Linked DNA regions of Homo sapiens: region 1 is linked to region 2. Evidence: promoter capture Hi-C in human tissues and cell types (Jung and others, 2019). All regions are on one chromosome and are shown on one strand. The core of a region is centred on a gene start or on the middle of the fragment in contact, and the rest is flanking DNA. Distances in the headings are between cores, read along the strand shown. Region 1 has its middle 77 kb from the start of GPAM. Region 2 holds the start of ADRA2A (adrenoceptor alpha 2A).

Evidence for each region. Contacts are between HindIII fragments. The study calls those that stand out against the background at their distance.
Region 1: a contact is called between a fragment that was not itself captured here and the fragment with the promoter of ADRA2A in region 2, in 1 of the 25 tissues and cell types used here (spleen).

What each region holds. Positions count from the first base shown.
Region 1 is chr10:112,104,992-112,107,691 of GRCh38, reverse strand. No RefSeq gene overlaps it. Among named protein-coding and RNA genes, the nearest start is that of GPAM, 77 kb to the left of the region's middle. The HindIII fragment of the contact is 4,977 bases long and covers 1-2,700 here.
Region 2 is chr10:111,075,595-111,078,294 of GRCh38, reverse strand. ADRA2A (adrenoceptor alpha 2A) reads right to left here and starts at 1,266. Exons shown (of 1, transcript NM_000681.4): 1 at 1-1,266. The coding sequence starts at 298. RefSeq lists a silencer at 1,254-1,303. The HindIII fragment of the contact is 8,357 bases long and covers 1-2,700 here.

The sequences.
Region 1 (2,700 bases), core at 146-2,645, 1.0 Mb before region 2:
ATGTGGTATTTGTCATTGGTTCTGTTTATATGCTGGATTACATTTATTGATTTGCGTATATTGAACCAGCCTTGCATCCCAGGGATGAAGCCCACTTGATCATGGTGGATAAGCTTTTTGATGTGTTGCTGGATTTGGTTTGCCAGTATTTTATTGAGGATTTTTGCATCAATGTTCATCAAGGATATTGGTCTAAAATTCTCTTTTTTGGTTGTGTCTCTGCCAGGCTTTGGTATCAGGATGATGCTGGCCTCATAAAATGAGTTGGGGAGGATTTCCTGTTTTTCTATTGATTGGAATAGTTTCAGAAGGAATGGTACCAGCTCCTCCTTGTACCTCTGGTAGAATTCGGCTGTGAATCCATCTGGTCCTGGACTCTTTTTGGTTGGTAAGCTATTGTTTATTGCCACAATTTCAGAGCCTGTTGTTGGTCTATTCAGAGATTCAACTTCTTCCTGGTTTAGTCTTGGGAAGGTGTATGTGTTGGGGAATTTATCCATTTCTTCTAGATTTTCTAGTTTATTTGCGTAGAGGTGTTTGTAGTATTCTCTGATGGTAGTTTGTATTTCTGTGGGATCGGTGGTGATATCCCCTTTATCATTTTTTATTGCGTCTATTTGATTCTTCTCTCTTTTTTTCTTTATTAGTCTTGCTAGCGGTCTATCAATTTTGTTGATCCTTTCAAAAAACCAGCTCCTGGATTCATTAATTTTTTGAAGGGTTTTTTGTGTCTCTATTTCCTTCAGTTCTGCTCTGATTTTAGTTATTTCTTGCCTTCTGCTAGCTTTTGAATGTGTTTGCTCTTCCTTTTCTAGTTCTTTTAATTGTGATGTTAGGGTGTCAATTTTGGATCTTTCCTGCTTTCTCTTGTGGGCATTTAGTGCTATAAATTTCCCTCTACACACTGCTTTGAATGTGTCCCAGAGATTCTGGTATGTTGTGTCTTTGTTCTCATTGGTTTCAAAGAACATCTTTATTTCTGCCTTCATTTCGTTATGTACCCAGTAGTCATTCAGGAGCAGGTTGTTCAGTTTCCATGTAGTTGAGCGATTTTGAGTGAGATTCTTAATCCTGAGTTCTAGTTTGATTGCACTGTGGTCTGAGAGACAGTTTGTTATAATCTCTGTTCTTTTACATTTGCTGAGGAGAGCTTTACTTCCAAGTATGTGGTCAATTTTGGAATAGGTGTGGTGTGGTGCTGAAAAAAATGTATGTTCTGTTGATTTGGGGTGGAGAGTTCTGTAGATGTCTATTAGGTCCGCTTGGTGCAGAGCTGAGTTCAATTCCTGGGTATCCTTGTTGACTTTCTGTCTCGTTGATCTGTCTAATGTTGACAGTGGGGTGTTAAAGTCTCCCATTATTAATGTGTGGGAGTCTAAGTCTCTTTGTAGGTCACTCAGGACTTGCTTTATGAATCTGAGTGCTCCTGTATTGGGTGCATATATATTTAGGATAGTTAGCTCTTCTTGTTGAATTGATCCCTTTACCATTATGCAATGGCCTTCTTTGTCTCTTTTGATCTTTGTTGGTTTAAAGTCTGTTTTATCAGAGACTAGGATTGCAACCCCTGCCTTTTTTTGTTTTCCATTTGCTTGGTAGATCTTCCTCCATCCTTTTATTTTGAGCCTATATGTGTGTCTGCACGTGAGACGGGTTTCCTGAATACAGCACACTGATGGGTCTTGACGCTATCCAATTTGCCAGTCTGTGTCTTTTAACTGGAGCATTTAGTCCATTACATTTAAAGTTAATATGTTATATGTGAATTTGATCCTGTCATTATGATGTTAGCTGGTTATTTTGCTTGTTAGTTGATGCAGTTTCTTCCTAGTCTCGATGGTCTTTACATTTTGGCATGATGTTGCAGCGGCTGGTACCGGTTGTTCCTTTCCGTGTTTAGCGCTTCCTTCAGGAGCTCTTTTAGGGCAGGCCTGGTGGTGACAAAATCTCTCAGCATTTGCTTGTCTGTAAAGTATTTTATTTCTCCTTCACTTATGAAGCTTAGTTTGGCTGGATATGAAATTCTGGGTTGAAAATGCTTTTCTTTAAGAATGTTTAATATTGGCCCCCAGTCTCTTCCGGCTTGTAGAGTTTCTGCCGAGAGATCTGCTGTTAGTCTGATGGGCTACCCTTTGAGGGTAACCCGACCTTTCTCTCTGGCTGCCCTTAACATTTTTTCCTTCATTTCAACTTTGGTGAATCTGACAATTATGTGTCTTGGAGTTGCTCTTCTCGAGGAGTATCTTTGTGGCGTTCTCTGTATTTCCTGAATCTGAATGTTGGCCTGCCTTGCTAGATTGGGGAAGTTCTCCTGGATAGTATCCTGCAGAGTGTTTTCCAACTTGGTTCCATTCTCCCCGTCACTTTCAGGTACACCAATCAGACGTAGATTTGGTCTTTTCACTTAGTCCTATATTTCTTGGAGGCTTCGTTCGTTTCTTTTTATTCTTTTTTCTCTAAACTTCCCTTCTCGCTTCATTTCATTCATTTCGTCTTCCATCGCTGATACCCTTTCTTCCAGTTGATCGCATCGGCTCCTGAGGCTTCTGCATTTTTCACGACGTTCTCGAGCCTTGGTTTTCAGCTCCATCAGCTCCTTTAGGCACTTCTCTGTATTGGTTATTCTAGTTATACATTCTTCTAAATTTTTTTCAAAGTTTTCAACTTCTTTGCCTTTGGTTTGAATGTCCTCCCGTAGCT
Region 2 (2,700 bases), core at 17-2,516:
GCGTGGCCACCAGGATGTCGGCCGAGGCCAGAGACACCAGGAAGAGGTTTTGGGGCGCCTTGAGCGCGCGGCTCGTGAACACGGCGATGATGACGAGCACGTTGCCGAACACGGTGAGCAGCATGAGCAGGCCGGCCAGGCACACCAGCGTCAGCGTCACCTGCAGGGAGTAAGGGGTGGCCCGGGCGCCGCCCCCCGGCGCCTCGGTCCCGTTCCAGCTCGCGTTGCCCGCGTCCGGCTGCAGGGAGCCCATGGGCGCAAAGCTGCCCTCGGCCAACGGCTGCTCCTGGCGGAACATGAACGCGGGCGCCCGCTGGCCTGGGCCTGCTGCCAGCTGCCTTCCGGCCCGGCGCCCGTGGGTCCTCCTCTTCCTCCGGCGCCCCGCTCGCCTGGCTGCGGCTCACATAGGGAGGGGGCCGCAGGGAGGCCGGGCCCGAACTGGAGGACCGCTAGCGGCCCATGGCCCGGGTCCCGCGAACTGCGCCTGGCTCGCGCTTCAGACGCTCTCGGTGGGCGCCTTCTTGCTCCGAGCTCCTAATACAGCCAAGTTTTATTTCTAAGCGGCGGGAGAGAGTAGGGAGAGCCGATGGGTAAAGAGAGATTTATTCTTCAAGAAGGGAGAACAAAAATCATCGGTGGCCTGATAACTTGGAAGGATGACAGGAAATTAAATATATATATACATATCAATATCTGTATCTTGAATCTTGAGCCTGAGCGAAAGCAAGAGGTCTTACCGTGTGCGGGGCCCGCCCCCACCCCGGGAGGCAGCCGAAGGGTGCTGATGCGAGCTCGGGGGTCCTATGTCTGTCGCCTTACATCCCCGAAGCGATTACCGACTCTCTGGCTTCCCCCAGACGCTGCGGTTCTGGCCCGGCCCGGCCCGGGGCTGGGGCGCGGACTCTGCCGCCTCTCGGAGCGCCGCGAGACTTCCAAAGTTGTGCGCCCTGCTGGGGCTGGGGCACACTGTGCGGAGCTCCGGGACGGCGGCGGCGGCGGGGTGAGGAGTGTGGGGGCCGCATGAAGGCACCCCCGTCCTCAGGCGGGCCGGGGCAGGTGAACGATCAGCTCTCCAGGAGCCGCGACGGAGGCAGGGGTTCTCCTGGGCGTCCGCCTGGTGGGCGCCGAGCGCTGCTGGATGGGCCGGGGTCCGACGACAGCGCGAGTTGGGGCAGGAGCGCAAGGCGGGGAAGAAGGCGCTGGAGTGGCCGGGCGGCGGCACGCCGGCTGCTGGGCTTCTGCACCGAGCTGGAGCTGCTGCTGCTCCGCTGCGCTCACGGTGGACTCGTTTTATAGCCCCAGGATCAAGCAAGCGTTGCTGAGCAGCCGGCGTCAGCCCCCACGTGGGAAGCCGACCCTCCCCCGCCCCTCGCACCACCCCTCCGCCAGTCTAGCGCCCGCGCCTAGCGCTGGACCTCGGGGAGCGTTGCCCTCAGGCGGGACGAGCCCTTTGGAGAGGCGGGTACCTTGAGCTAGAGACTTAAAGAGGGAGCCCGGGGGTGGGGGGTAGGGGAGGAGCGGCCCCTGCTGGGAGTTGGCCATGCAGCTCCGGGCCGACGGAGCAGAACGCAACGGGCACCCGTGAGTGCCCCCAAGAAGCTGGATCTTGGGAGAAAAGGGAAGAAAAAAATGGAAGGGAATCCCCGCCCAAATCGAGGGAAGTAACCTCCGGTGTGAGTTACGTCTGGAGCAGCCCAGCTCCGGGCCAGAGCCGACGCGGTCCGCAGGTGCTCCTGGAGGCTGGGGAGAAAGGGGTCCTGGAGAGGGAGGAAGGCGCGGCTTCGGATGGAACCCCTGGGGCGGAATGGACAGCACCCACGGGGAAGTGGTACAAGCCGGAGTTCAGACCTCCGCTTAGGGAAGAAGCGGCTACGTGTCCTCCCAGCCGCGATGCTGTCTGCGGGAAACGCAAGACCCGGGGTCTGGACCGCGCCCCCTTAGACCGAGGTGGGGAGGGGTCCAGGAGCCGAGCGCCAGGGCAAAGCGAGGACGCACTGACACCTGCTGGCCGCTCGTGGTCACGGCTGAGAAGCGACCCGCTGACGCCAGGCGCCTCCTCCCGTCTCTTAGGTCTTCTGCCAACAGAGCCTTCTCCTATCTCCGAACAAATTGGTTTCTAAGCTCAGGAAAGGAGAACCCAGAGTTTGAATTGCACCCTGCCGTGTTGCAGAAATCTTCCTAAAGCAGATACTCGTGTGTCTACCCCTGGCGGGAGTGGGGGTTTGTCTAATAAAGTCACATCAGGAAGGGCTCAGCAGGCACCGCCGGCCAGAACGGGCATCCCACTCTGGACCCGCACAGCCCACCCTTCCTGCAGATCCGAGAGAGGCCAGGATCCTGCCTCCTTGGTTGCACAGCTCTGGCTTGCTGGGAATCATTATGTTTTTGTTGAGGACCGAAAGCTAGACTCCACTCCCGCCCCGCATCCCACCCCCATTCAGATGTACACACAGCATCCTTCAATAAGGGGAAGAGGGAGTAGAATATTTTCCATGTTCTCTCTGATAAGAATAGCGGTGGGGGCGGGGGGGAGTGGGTGTGCGGCGAATGGCAAGTTTTTCCGTGCGTGCTAGCTGTCCTAGGATAGATTTTAACGGTCACTAGAGCACTAGCTTGCACCCTGCTAGCTGCACTTTTCAGATGAGAGCAAGCAGTTTAATGGTAAAACCCAAGAGGGTAGGAAATTTCAGCAGGAGAGAG